Regions from separate parts of the Homo sapiens genome. Here all the other regions are linked to region 1. The links are contacts of gene promoters, found by promoter capture Hi-C in blood cells and fetal thymus (Javierre and others, 2016). All regions are on one chromosome and are shown on one strand. Each heading gives the region's core, a stretch centred on a gene start or on the middle of the fragment in contact. The rest is flanking DNA. Distances are from core to core; before and after follow the strand shown.

The links. Contacts are between HindIII fragments. The CHiCAGO score rates a contact against its expected background, and 5 or more counts as called.
Region 2: a contact is called between a fragment that was not itself captured here and the fragment with the promoter of ABCC4 in region 1, in 1 of 17 cell types (megakaryocytes). The highest score is 10.3, in megakaryocytes.
Region 3: a contact is called between a fragment that was not itself captured here and the fragment with the promoter of ABCC4 in region 1, in 1 of 17 cell types (megakaryocytes). The highest score is 5.5, in megakaryocytes.

What each region holds. Positions count from the first base shown.
Region 1 is chr13:95,298,610-95,303,312 of GRCh38, reverse strand. It overlaps ABCC4 (ATP binding cassette subfamily C member 4 (PEL blood group)), which reads left to right and starts at 1,862. Exons shown (of 31, transcript NM_005845.5): 1 at 1,862-2,072. The coding sequence starts at 1,999. LOC102724149 (a long non-coding RNA gene) reads right to left here and starts at 2,362. Exons shown (of 3, transcript XR_429273.4): 1 at 2,050-2,362; 2 at 987-1,367. RefSeq lists silencers at 1,357-1,416, 1,597-1,656, 1,687-2,326 and enhancers at 1,143-1,917, 3,520-3,579. The HindIII fragment of the contact is 3,485 bases long and covers 296-3,780 here.
Region 2 is chr13:95,482,645-95,487,347 of GRCh38, reverse strand. All of the region lies in intron 3 of CLDN10-AS1 (CLDN10 antisense RNA 1), which reads left to right. It also overlaps a transcript of CLDN10 not described here. Among named protein-coding and RNA genes, the nearest start is that of CLDN10-AS1, 49 kb to the left of the region's middle. The HindIII fragment of the contact is 4,082 bases long and covers 1-4,037 here.
Region 3 is chr13:95,152,614-95,157,316 of GRCh38, reverse strand. All of the region lies in intron 19 of ABCC4 (ATP binding cassette subfamily C member 4 (PEL blood group)), which reads left to right. Among named protein-coding and RNA genes, the nearest start is that of SNORD13G, 55 kb to the left of the region's middle. The HindIII fragment of the contact is 1,718 bases long and covers 993-2,710 here.

The DNA.
Region 1 (4,703 bases), core at 613-3,112:
CTGGGCTAATTTTTAAAACTTTTGGTAGAGACAGAGCCTCACTATGCTGGCTAGCCTGTGCTTGACTTTTAAATATGTGTTTGTGTAAGGCTTTCTTTAAAAGCTATTAACTATACTATTTTAGCAAATATACATGGGAAATTATCAAGGAACAATAAAATGATCTTGTTCCAAGCACCATGAACTTGGAGCCTTTCATTTTTTTTCATTCAGGGTGGATATGAAGAGCAGCTGCTGACCTTGTTAAGGTAGCCACAGAAATGACTGAAGACTTAGAGGTGGGAGTACACAAGCTTGGAACAAGATTTTGTTCATTCATTCCTACAGCCATTCAACCAGCATATTCTGGGCACTTCTCATGCACACTGGCCATCCACCAGGGAGACAGGCCATGCTTAGACATAGGCTTATTGCAAATCATGTTTTATCCTTTCTTGGCTCTAAGACTGGACAAGTTCTGCCTTTCAGCTTCACCTTCCTCATCTATAAAGTAAGGATAACCTTGAATGGGGCACTGATAGAATTAAAAGTGAGATAATTGGTCGGGCGTGGTGGTACATGCCTGTAATCCTAGCACTTTGGGAGGCCACGGTGGGAGGATCACTTGAGCCTAGGAGTTTGAGACCAGCCTGGGCAACAAAGTGAGAAATTATCAAGGAACAATAAAATGATCTTATTACAAAGAAAACCAAATTCTCAAACATGCATGAAATATGAAGAAAATAAACCTCCATGACAATCATTTGGCTTCAAAAATTATCAGTATTTGAACTTGGAGCCTTTGATTTTGATTTTTGCATCTCTACAAAAATTACAAAATATGAGCCGGGTGTGGTGGCGGGTGCCTGTAGTCCTAGCTACTTAAACTGAGTTGGGAGGATTGCTTGAGCCCTGGGAGGTCGAGGGTGCAATGAGCCATAATCGTGACACTGTGTGTGAGACTGCCACACACACACACACACACACACACTAGTGAGGCTACGCACTCAGAAATGCACATGAACATCACTGGTATTCTGGAACCCACGTGTCGTTTGCCACTGTTATCTGTTAGGCTTTAGGGCTTGACGACAGAAATCATCAGGCAGTCTCTCTTTCCTCTTATATTCCTTTCCCAATCTAAGGGGGCAGCAAAAAGCTCAGAGGTCCACCGTAGCATGCAACATGTGAGATGCCTAAAGCCCGCCCCCATCGACGACAGCATTCATCCATCTCCCGAATTCATCTGGGTCATACTCTCGAGTTACCCGGCTTTCTTGAGGTCTTGCAGCTCTACAAGGATAATCTGTGGCTAAACTTTGCTGTCGTCCAAGGTCAAATGTTTGGCTCACAGGTTGAAGAGCCTCCCATGGCACCGTCGTTTGGTCCTGAGAAGGGAAAGGCGCCCAGGGGGCGGGCTGCTAGAGCACGAGGCAGCTGTCTCCCAGTCTTCCCAAACCCGTAGCCGAGGGGGCGTTTCTGCGGCGCAGGGGCGGGCACAGCCGACGCCTCCCTGCTCCACCTTCTGTGTCGGCGCCTAGACTCGGATAGTGAATTTCGGAAAGTTTCACTCGGGTTCGTGCACGTGGGCACCTCCGGACCCGGCCTCCTTGCCGCGCGCTCTGCTACCCTCTCCATCCAGCGGCGCAGGCGGCCCTCGCCTCACCCCTGGGCGTAGCTCTGGGCTCCCTTTGGCGTCGCCAGCTTCGCCTCCTCCCGCCGCGTCTCCTCCCGCCGCGTCACCCGTCGGTCCCGGCCGCGCTCGCACGCGGTGCGCAGCTCCCGGGCTCCAGGCGGCGGCGCGTAGCGGGCGCCCCCGAGGCGGCGGGCCTGAGAGGCGGGGACGGGGCGTGCCGCCGGCGCCCGGCTCCCGGAAGCGGCTGCTTCACAGGCTCCAGCCGAGCGGACAGGCGTGGCGGCCGGAGCCCCAGCATCCCTGCTTGAGGTCCAGGAGCGGAGCCCGCGGCCACCGCCGCCTGATCAGCGCGACCCCGGCCCGCGCCCGCCCCGCCCGGCAAGATGCTGCCCGTGTACCAGGAGGTGAAGCCCAACCCGCTGCAGGACGCGAACCTCTGCTCACGCGTGTTCTTCTGGTGAGTGTCCCCGCCCGAAACAGGTCACCCTGCAGCCGCTGGCGCCGCGGACGCACTCTCCCGGGGCCGCGCCCGATGCTGCCCAAGCCCTCTGCGGCTGGGGGCGAGGGGAGCGCTTTCCTACGCCACGCGGTCCACGCCGGGGCTTTCTGCTGCGGGTGGCGCCGCCCCCACGCCGGCCGCGTGGTCCCTGCCTGCGCCCCGGGGCGCGGCGCAGGGGGACGCGGGGACGCGGGGCCAGTGGCTTTGCTACTGGAGGCCCTGCGGGCCCTTAGGGCTCGGGGGAGGAGGAGCAGGAGGTGGGGAGGCGGGGAACCCAGGCTGCCGAAAGGGGGAGTCTCTTGCCCAGCGGGAGAAGCGACTGCACCCCTTACACGCCCACCCTTCGCTGGCTCCCGCCTCCTGCTCTGGGACTCGCAGTCTCCTGAACTCAAACGCACCTTTTCCTTTCTTTTTAAGTAAGCAGCTTACGAACAGTTTCCTTTATCTGATCTCAGCCAAAGCCTAATTAGTGTCCTGGACCTATGCCATCTCCCAGTAGTGTCCCCACCCCTTCCGATATTCCTTACGAGACAGCTCGATCCAACTCCACGTCCCGTTGTACCTCTCTGTGTCCCGGTGTCTCTGTATCTTTTGTCTCAGTGACCAGGGCTCTCCTTTTGCCTCTTTGTGGGAATCTCACTGTGTGTCCATGTGGGTCGTGGTACCTAGTTATGGCAAGTTTCATGTGGGTAAAATAACACTATTATTATTTTTCATTTATGAATGGGGACCCTGTTCTTGAACAAGATTTTCCAGGATTTGCTTTTAACTGGGACATGCACCGCCACGACTGGAGTCTGTCTTTGACCAGCTTCTTTCCCCTGTTTCCAATACTTTCACTTCCACGTAGGAGGACAGCTCGGAGGTGGGGTCCCTGGAATCGCTAACCTTCAGAGAGGTGATCCATGGTCTTGATGCAGGTGGTTCCTACCAGGAGTTCTACCTTCTTAAAACCACCCCAGGGCTCCTGAGCTGGGAGGGCCCACAGCCCTACCCATTTTGTGCAAGGAAACAAACGGAGAAAGACTCGGGTGACAGTAGTAACTAAAATTTCCATCTTGGCCTGGCGCGGTGGCTCACGCCTGTATCCCTGCACTTTGGGAGGCAGAGGTGGGTGGATCACGAGGTCAGGAGTTCGAGACCAGCCTGGCTGACATGGTGAAACCCCGTCTCTACTAAAAATACAAAAATTAGCCGGGTGTGGTGGAGCACGCCTGTAATCCCAGCTACTCAGGAGGCTGAGGCAGGGGAATTGCTTGAACCCAGTAGGCGGAGGTTGCAGTGAGCTGAGATCGCCCCACTGTACTCCAGCCTGGGTGACAGAGTGAGACTCCGTCTTGGGGGAGTGGCGGGTGTGTGTGGGGGAATTCCGTCTGCTAACTACATAAGCCTGAACCTTTGAAGGGCTTCAATCTCACTTGGATGATTATTAGATCTTCTGTTTCTTGACCTCTGCCGCCTCATCTTTCCCACATGTTGATATTGCCTTTTATTATGGGACAACCTAGGGTGGGGGTCTCCAATTTTTTGGGTTCCCTGGGCCACACTGGAAGAATTGTCTTGGGCCATACATAAAATACACTAACACTAATCATACACTAACACTAATGATAGCTGATGAGCTAAAAAAAAATCGCAAAAAAAAATCTGATGTTTTAAGAAAGCTTACGAATTTGGCAGCCCATGGGCCTCAGGTTGGACAAGCTTGACCTAGGGGATTCCAAGAGGATGAGTCGCTTACTCTTGTTTCGATTGTGGTACACTCAGTGGGTGTAGGAACTTCTCTTGGTTGTTTGGCGGCCTTTCTCTTAAGGAGAGGGGCACGTGGAGGAGGAAGGAATATGGGTGTGGTTTCTGCAAATAATAACTTGAGGTAGACAAATGGTCTCCTCAACTTCAGGCAGGGCAAGGAACTTTTTTTTTTTTTTTTTGAGACAGGATCTTGCTTTGTGCAAGCTGTGACCCAGGCTGGAGGGCAGTGACACATTCATAGCTTGCTGCAGCCTCCAACTCCTGGGCCGAAGCAATCCTCCTGCCTCAGCCTCCCGAGTAGCTGGGGCTCCAGGTGTGTGTCACCATGCCCGGATAATAAAAAAAAATTTTTTTTGTAGAGATAGGGCTCTCTATGTTGTTGCTCAGGCTGGTCTTGAACTCCTGGGCTCAAGTGTTCCTCCCGCTTCGGCCACCCAAAGTCTGGGATTACAGATGTGACTCCTGCCTCCTTATATTTTTCTCCCCCTGCATTTTCAAAATGTAGGTGGCAGGGAAATAGGAAGTGATGCGCTCCCATTGATGACTTGAGTAGGTGTTCATTTCCGGTTTCCCTGATGGAAGGGAAGGAGCTAGTAGACCTCTGTTTTACTCCGAGGACACTTAAGCTGAGAGTGGTTAAGTTGCCTGGACTCACACAACAATCAAGTGTCAGAGCAGGCTCCAAAGCTGGGCAGACTGGCTCCCCAGCCTCTTTGGAGCTGCTGTACTGAGCTGCTTCCAGTTCAGGTGCTGTCGGAAATGCATGGAGAAGGCGCTCCCTGTTCTGGAAGGCTAGAGTTTCTCAAGGGAAATTCTTAAAGTACCTGCAGTTGGAGA
Region 2 (4,703 bases), core at 747-3,246, 180 kb before region 1:
GTACTGAATATTCAAAAATGATTTTGTGATGACTTTATATCAGTGTAAAGTTCTCTTCATAGGTAACCCTCTAAGGGAAAAATAGAAAAGTAAGTCCTGCAAACAGGAGATAGTCTTCTTGGGAAACTTCAGTTCTGAGCAAGAGGATGCTAGGATAGCAGAGACTGGACAAGAGTGTTCTCCTAGAAATGACATCATAGGCTGCCAGAACAAATTGCCTGTGAGAATAGCATGTGCTTAATCAGGAGATAGATGCAGAGAACACCCATAGGTGTAGGTTAGAATCATGCTAAAGAGCAACAGGCTGGACACGGACAGTTCAAATCCGTGCGAAACACAACACAAAGACGATAGCACAGCGACAACAGCAAAATCTCCACTTCATTTTGGCCATGACTTTTCACCTCTTTTCTCCACCAAAAACCTTATTTCTTTAAATTTTCCATGTGCAACTCATTGATTGAGCACCCAAGTATCAGGCACCATGTTGAACACTGAGGCGGTAAAGGGAGAGTGTAGTTCTGCCTCCCCAAAGAGCTCACAACGTGGCCAGGTGGAGGCACATGCACAACTGAGAGGCTAAAATGTGGCTACTGAATCATATGGCCAGGATGGAAAAAGAAAAATCTTTAGGAATAAAAAGCAAGGCACCTTTCATTCTGTTTGAGATGCCTGTGAGGCAGGTTCACTGTACTCTGGTTACCAATTCCAGGGGAGATCCTACTACATGGAGGATAGCAAAGATCATCACTATGCCAACCAACCACCAGGAAGAGGAGTCCAGATACTTCTGCCAATTGCATCTTTTTTTTTTTTTTTTTTTTTGAGATGGGGTCTCACTGTGTTGCCCAGGCTGGAGTGCAGTGGTGCGATCTTGGCTCACTGTAACCTCCACCTCCCAGGTTCAAGTGATTATCCTGCCTCAGCCTCCAGAGTAGCTGGGACTACAGGCGCACGCCACCATGCCTGGCTAATTTTTGTATTTTTAGTAGAGACGGAGTTTTGCCATGTTGGCCAGGCTGGTCTCAAACTCCTGACCTCAAGTGATCCACCCACATCGGCCTCCCAAAATGCGCCTATTGCATCTTGGGCTGCAATTTCTACCACTTGCAGGAGTTGAGGGAGACAGAACACTCACAGAACAAGTTAGGCAAAGCAACTTTATTCATCACAGATAGGCAGCAAGGCACAACAGAAGCCTAGCATCCATTGCGAGCTGATTCTGCAAGGCTCAGGAAGCTACTCAGAATGGATGGAGTCTTGTCTGCACATGCCCCACAATGCACTGTAGCTGAGGCACTCTGAAAGCACTCCACTCTGGGTTTTATACCCTGGGGGGAAACTGGGATCACTGGACCACAGCATTGGAGGACATCTTGTCCTAAGAGGAACAGAAACAGAATCTGGCATATTCTGGACAGCTTTTCCTTATCTCAGAATGTTGTTTCCAGCACATTCTAGCATTATTCTGAGAACTACAAGTGAAAAATGGGGGAAGAGCTGGGTTATCAAGGCCATCCAGGCACTTATCCTGCAATGCCCAGGAAAGTCACCCCAGAGGAGGTTACATTTGAGTTGGCCTCAAAGCACGGCTAGAATTTCTAGTCCTTATCTGGAGGAAATAGAGTGAGGAAAAACATACAGCTGAGTATGCCAAAAACACAAGTTGTCCAGTGAATGTGTGTAAACTCAGGCTGAAATTTAGCAGGGATGATGAGAAAGGAGATATGGATTAGGCCTGATTAGGAATGCCCTGATGTGCCATTCTAGGGAATCTGGAGTGGGCCCGGGCTTGAAAACCAGCAGTGATGAATGGTAGAATTCTGTTTGGCCAGATCAGATTTGAAAATAATTTTGAATACCTTTGGATAGGAAATTCAGCTCCAATGACTCATAGACCTGTGGTGTAAGGCCTGAAATTAAGATTCAAAACTAAGTGCTGCCTTGACCATGGAGGCTGGTAAAATCAGGGTACAGAGGCTCAAATGGATTAACTGCAAGTTCTCCTCCCACTCTGCTCCTGGTGGATAAAGTCCTCTAGCCAAGCAACCCTCCTTATCAAAGGGACCAGGCGCAGTGCTAGGCTTCAGGTCCCCGTCAGCCTGTAGAATTATCCAAGCAAACCAAACACATCCTCTTACAGGAACCAGGGGCACCTCGCCCTCTTGTTACTACAAAGCCTGCCTCCCACAGCTTCCTGGTGGTTCACTCTGTTCCCAGCTGCAACCCCCACGTGGCTCTCTGTGGGGCAGTGTCGTCCTTCCCTGGGCCATGAGCATATGTGACTAATTACCTGCTGCCCATCTCATCTGTCTAGGCTTGGATGTTGTACATTCAACCATCCTCTCAACTCTAGGGCGGAATCCCTCCCTCACCAGTGGGGTGAAGTGGAGGCAAACTAAATCAAACTAAATAAGACCCCATCATACCATGTTGTATTGCACTCTGCTTCTTTTTTTTTTTTTTTTTTTTTTTTTTTTTTGAGACAGGGTCTCACTTTGTTACCCAGGCTGGAGTGCAGTGGCACAATCTTGGCTCATTCCAACCTCCACCTCCTGGGTCCAAGCGATTCTTGTGCCTCAGCCTCCCGAGTAGCTGGAACTACAGGTGCTTGCCACCACACCTGGCTAATTTTTGTGGGTTTTTTTTTTTTTTTTTTGTATTTTTAGTAGAGACGGGGTTTCGCCATGTTGGCCAGGCTGGTCTTGAACTCCTGACCTCAAGTGATCTGCCCACCTTGGCCTCCCAATGTGCTGGGATTACAGGCGTGAGCCACCACACCTGGCCTCATCCTGCTTCTTTACACACTTACATTTCCTGCATAACTGAAAAAACTTGACCTTGTAACACCTCTTTTCAGGGGAATGACATATAAAATTATTCATAATGACAGACTATGAAATATTTTACCAATATTTTCCTTTAAGAAAGATTAGGGAAGTAGTGTTTAGGATAGATTCTACATGGAACAAATTAGAAGTAGAAAGACCAGTCAAGAAGTATCTGAACAGAATGATAGCCGAGTGGTGTGCAGTGGATACTGTGATATGCTGCCCAGAAAGGACAGTGAAGGACATCAGGCCCCAGCTGCTAGAAGTGCTGCTGCAGTCAGCCTGTAGCTCTTAGCCCTCTCAGAAAGTGACTGAGCTGCAGAGAGCTGCCTCACCCAAGGACATGCCCTATCTTTGTCCTTTTGGGCTGCTATCCTACCAGAGACTAAGTAGTTCAAAAACAACAGAAATGTATTTCTCACAATTCTAGAGGCTGGGAAGGCCAAAGTCAAGGCACCAGCAAATTTGATGCCTGGTGAGGGTTGGCTTCCTAACTGATAGAGAATGTCTTCTTACTGTATCCTCATGTGGTGGAAGGGATAAGGGAGGGACCTCTCTGGGGTGTCTTCTATAAGGGCACTAATCCCATCCCGAGGGCTCCATCCTTGTGACCTAATCACCTCCCAAAGGCCCCACATCCCAATACCATCACCTTGGGGGTTAGCATTTTAACATACGAGTTTTGGAGGGACACAAATATTCAGACCATAGCACACTCATGCCTGGGGAAGCTCATATCGAGTGACCAATGGATGGTGGAGCATAAGGGCTTGGCCAGCTCAGCCATGCTTGGCATGTTTCTAAAAGTCCACCTAACTCCAGAGCTCTTGGTGAGGTTTGCTGAGACTGTCAGCCTTGGGTTGTAGCTCAACGTCACTGCTCTGCCCACTCCTGCTTCTGTCCCCTACCTTCCACAGGTGTGGTCCCTCCCACAGGCACGCCTTCATGAAATGCCTCTTTAGAGTCTGGTTTCTGGGGATACAACCTGTGATGCTTAAAAAATTAAGAGGCCGGGCACAGTGGGTCATGCCTATAATCCTAGCACTTTGGGAGGCCAAAGCAGGAGGATTGCTTGAGCTCAGTAGTTGAAGACCAGCCTGGGCAACATAGTGAGACCATGTCTCTACAAAAAATTTTAATAAAAAAGAAAGAAAAAAAATTAGAGATGAGAAATGAGGGGAGGAGAGGGAAATTGAGAAATAAGCTTAGATAATTTTCACCCTAAGGGTAAATCTCCCAAATAATGTTTCCCCATCTTCTCAGAGAGCCCACAGTCTGAACGAGGAGAAAGCTGTTCAATGAAAAATCAATAAGTAGTCAGGTGAATCCTCCAGGAATCTGCACAGAGTGGCAGTGCCACACCTTTTACATAAACCAACCTCCTCACTCTCCCCTCCTCAGCAGCTCCCAGGCCTGAGGACGGGCAGCGTCACTTTCTCCCAAGAACGATGGAGAATCATTTCTCACCAGTAAGAATGTTGGCCTCACATTAAATTCGTGATGTTTAATGGGCTTATTTATGTATTTATTTATTTTTGAAATGGAGTTTCGCTCTTGTTGCCCAGGCTGGAGTACAGTGGCACGATCTTGGCTCATTGCAACCTCTGCCTCCTGGGTTCAAGAGATTCTCCTGTCTTAGCCTCCGGAGTAGCTGGGATTACAGGCACACGCCACCATGCCAAGCTAATTTTTTGTATTTTTAGTAGAGATGGGGGTTTCACCATGTTGGCCAGGGTGGTCTCAAACTCCTGACCTCAGGTGATCCACCCACCTCAGCCTCCCAAAGTGCTGGGATTACAGGCGTGAGCCACCGCGCCCAGCCAGTTTATTCATTTATACTTCAATCAGGATTAAGTACATCATGAGAATAAA
Region 3 (4,703 bases), core at 602-3,101, 150 kb after region 1:
CAGGGTTTTACCTCCTATTGGTACTGAGATAGCAGTTTTCCCAAGAAGCCAAGTACTGACGAGCAATGTGGAGCTGGGTCTGAGGGGCAACCATGCTCTGTCTGCTGTTGGGAGCGGGCTGGGCCCCCAGCAAGAATGGACACACATTCATCCAAGGTGACCACCAGTGGACAAATGGTGACTGTTTGTGTGTGTGTGTGTGTGTGTGTGTGTGTGTGTGTGTGTGTGGTAGAGTCTCACTCTGTCGCCCAGGCTGGAGTGCAGTGGCGTGATCTCAGCTCACAGCAACCTCCGGCTCCCAGGTTCAAGTGATTCTCCTGCCTCAGCCTCCCGAGTAGCTGGGATTACAGTGTCCACCATCACACCTGGCTAATTTTTGTATTTTTAGTAGAGATGGGGTTTCATGATGTTGGTCAAGCTGATCTCGAACTCTTGACCTCAGGTGATCCACCCATCTTGGCCTCCTAAAGTGCTGGGATTACAGGCGTGAGCTACCGCGCCCTGCCAAGAGCCGGTTTTCCTTTCTCGTCTTTTTATCCTCCTCTCACCCATTGCTAGTTTTTATTCTTTCCTCTTTTGATGTAGGTTGGTGATGGGATCACGTGTGTCTGTTAAGAAGCCTTACATTTTCAGCTGCCCTCGGACACCTCCTTCATATTTTGATTATGACCTGAGTTGAATAGGGCATTTGCAGATATTTTCTGGTACTGTTCGCTGCATCTACCTCTTCCTAGTCAGTTTTTGTGTGTGTCTTAGCCCTGTTTCCGTTCTGTTCCAATCATAATAAATGGGTAACACAAATCCTAGGTCAAGAGTAAGTCTTCAGAAATTAAGAGATGATTTTTATTTTAAATGTAAATCCTGTTTTCCTGGCATGGGCAGAATTAATTTTGCTTTTGATATCCAGCACAAGAGGGCAGCATGATCTGCAGTATTTCAGTGATATAATGTAAGAGCACCTCATTGCAAAACCTGGTTTTTAATTTAAAGCTTTCTTGGAAATTCTATTTTTATAGCTTGGGTCTTTGTATCTTGATATGTGTTAATATGAAATTTAAAAAGTAATATTGTGGCGTATTATGTTTGAAACATGAAAGTCTTTGTGGAAGATATTTTTCTGATGTTGTCCTGGAATACCTAGCATTTCAAACAGGGTTTTTTTGGATTTCCTAATTACACCTTCTTGACTAGTAACTGGAATAGGCAGACGCTGACATCTTGAGTGGTTGGATGCATTTTAATTCCTGAAGCATACATTATGATTTGCTTGTATGATGTTTCTGTTTTCTTTGTAAGCATGAGTTTGCAGAGAAAGATAGTTACACAGTTAGTTTCTTTAGTTTTCTTCCACGCCAACAGAGTTAGCAGAGACATTTTATTCTTATCAGGTCTCTACAATTTCACTCTTTGTTTTGGAGAAAAGATGAGCGGTTTGTTGTCCTGTTTTCTCATGCCTAATTATGGTGACATAACATTTAGCTAAGTACACTGACTCTAATGGGTGCCAGATAAATGTTTACTTGCTTTCAATTTGTTAATTTGGCTTTAAGAACCCAAGAGCTGGTGTTGGTAGAAGTGTTTGTTTACTCTCTCAGGGAAGTAAAAGTTAATATTGGGTTACAGCCAGTGTGTTTTACACAACTGGTTTTTCTCCAGTGTGTGCGTGGGGAGTATGTGTGTGTATGTATATTTATGTTCATCGATGCCTTCAACAGTGTAACAAAAAAACCAGATTCATATCATTCTTTTTTCTTTATAGATTAAGGTAAATGAGAGCTAAAACACTAGATAAAAGAAAAAAGAAACATATTGACTTCTTCCCATGTTTCTTTTTTTTAATCCAGTGGAAGATGCTTGTGGTCACTGAGGTATGGAATGCGAATGCTAGTACTAGATTTTAAGATAGACATATTCTCCTATGTTCCCTAATCAAAAATCGAGGGTTGCCCCAGTGATTAAGATTCTCAGCTTTTAGCCAGGCGTGGTTGTAGTCCCAGCAGCTCGGGAGGCTGAGTCAGGAGGATTACTTGAGTCTGGGAGGTCAAGACTGCAGTGAGCTGTGATTGCATCACTGCACTCCAACCTGTCTCCAAAAAAAAAAAAAGAATGATTCCTTCCCAGCTTGACTGAATGGGAAGTTAGGATGTGCATCCTACAGGAATTGAGGGGAGGAGGGTGGTAGTGGTTTGAACTATTGTTCTGTTTCTGAAACCTGGAAAGGGACTCTGGAATCCACTACAAGTTGCTAAATAATTTGTGGAGAACTGAAAGCAACCTCCATGATGAGCTTTTTATATGATCAGAAAGACTGTCTTGCGATACTCTATAAAATCTGATGTCCATATCCCACTTCCTTGCCAGAAAAAAAGAGTCATCAATAAAGAAGAAACATAATTGTAGGGATACCTATTTATCTGTTTATTCAGTTCAAATGACCACTGGAGTTGGTGCTAAATGTGCATTTTTAACAAGTATAATATTTCAGCACTGTCAAAATTACCTCTACAATAATAGGCTTGTTAAATTATAGCTCTATAAGCTAGGGGGTAAGATGGCTCTGCCCAGCACACATTAATCTATGCCTGTTCACACAAGTGATTCTGCTGAGCAGGTAGCATGTTTAAACAAGAAATACTGGTCCTAAAACCTCTGATTTATGGTAGGTGTTGTTTTGACACAGCACCATTCAGACAATTTACAAGGCAAAGCTTCGTGCTAAAATATTTCCTCAGTGTCATCATTCGTCACCAGTATAAATATTCAGTAGTGATGCTGGAAAATTGGTAATATGCCCATTGATGCCAAATCACTCGCTATGTTTCCTTTCAAGTGAGATCTGTTGTGGATATGGTTAAAAGAAACTATGATTTTTCTTCCTTGAGAGCAGATGAGCTGTAAGAAATTGAGAATAACAACCGTCCTGACAGCTTTCATGTACTCAATCTTGCCTATATTGCTTTTAATTCTGGCTTAAGTCCTGCGGGCTTTCCCTCCCACCCCCTTGCCTGATGCGTATTGTAAAGAACACATTTATATGTACATTAGTTAGTTTAAGAGGCTTTTTGTGTTCAAAGGAAGAAGTTAGTCATCACCAGAAAAGCTTTGTTGCAAAACAAAAACACACATTTCCCCTTTCATTTTTTCTTGTTAATAATAACAAATGCAAGTGACTATAAAGGGAATAACACAAAAGATTGCATCAATCATAATGATTCTCAATAGCCACATAAATATTGTTTTTTCAGCTTTGAATGAAACAGCTAAGAGTTTGAAGTAGGTGTGGTAATTAAATCCTGTCGGGTTATCACAAATTAAAAATAATGTTTTTTTCACATAACAATGGTTATATGTACTTAAACTCTTATCAGGGGTGATACGAAGTCATATTTTATGGGAGTTGCTCCTTTACTGCTAATAGTATCATAAAAGCCTTTGTTAGGAGTTTAAATAGTTACGTAGTTACATATATTTGATTGCTATTGTTATTTTGTCAGTAATCTGTATGTAAGCGATTACTGTAGCACTTGTCTACAGCTGGTAAATATTGCATCATTTTGGCATAATTTTTAATCTACTAGAATGTTCTGATTCATGGTTTTTCTCCATAATAAATCATACATGGAGATACTGACAACTTAGTAACAGAGAAAGCACTGTGTTTGTCCAATAAAATGTTAAAAAGATAAAAAACTAGGGAAGAATGTGCTTTGTTCAAAGTGATAATCATGTAATATTTCAGGAAATTATAAGATGACATTTTACTTAACTGTGTTAAATTGTTTTCCTATAGTGTATATAATGTGATACCTGCATGTATTTGTATATGCCTGTATCTCTCTCTCTCTGTCTCTCTCGATATATGTAAGTTCTCCACTTCAGTCTAATGTCCGTGGCTATGGTTTTAACGCCCCCCCATTAACTGATTTGATATGTGTTGTCTTTATCTTTATCTTCGGCTAACTTGGAACTAGCTAACTTGGAACTCAGGGCTTTGTAGCATATCCCAATATCTGCTGTTAATGTGTGCTTAGTAATTTGGCATTAGCCTATGGGATGTGTGACTGATAATAGTAATTCAAGTATTGTCATTTAAAACTGTCCCCCACTGTTAGATCAACATTATAGTTCTCTGTGACCTTATTGTCAGAAAAGAATCAAAGTATCTTCATGACTTAGTTCTTAGCTGTTGGATAACCATTTCAAGGGAAAATAGAACACTGTTTCTGGAATAACCTAATGATATTCCATTAGCCACTTGCAGTGGCCGATTTCAACATGAATAAATATTGATAAGTATATTACTGAGAGCCTAATATGTATAAAGCATAGTTTTTGGACACTAAGTGGAAGTTGTTGGGATTTGCTAGCTTGAAACGCTGTTCTGTTTTACTGTAAGGCCAACTGCTTCCCCTCAAAGATTTGACTTTGAAGTTCTCATATGAGAACTCTGGTTTTCATTTATAATTGGAGTTTTAATTTGAGAGTTTTCCATTTATAACTGGAGTTTAATTTGAGTTTTATATGAGAACTGATTTTCACTTATAATTGGAGTTTTCTTATTCCATTATTTTATTCCTTCCCCCTTTATTATAAACATGATTATTTATATTGCCATGAAGACAGTGGAAAAAAAATCAGAATATTTACAACGCTGAGGTTGTGACATTTTGTTTTCCATGAAGTTTAAAACATTTTTGCTTTTA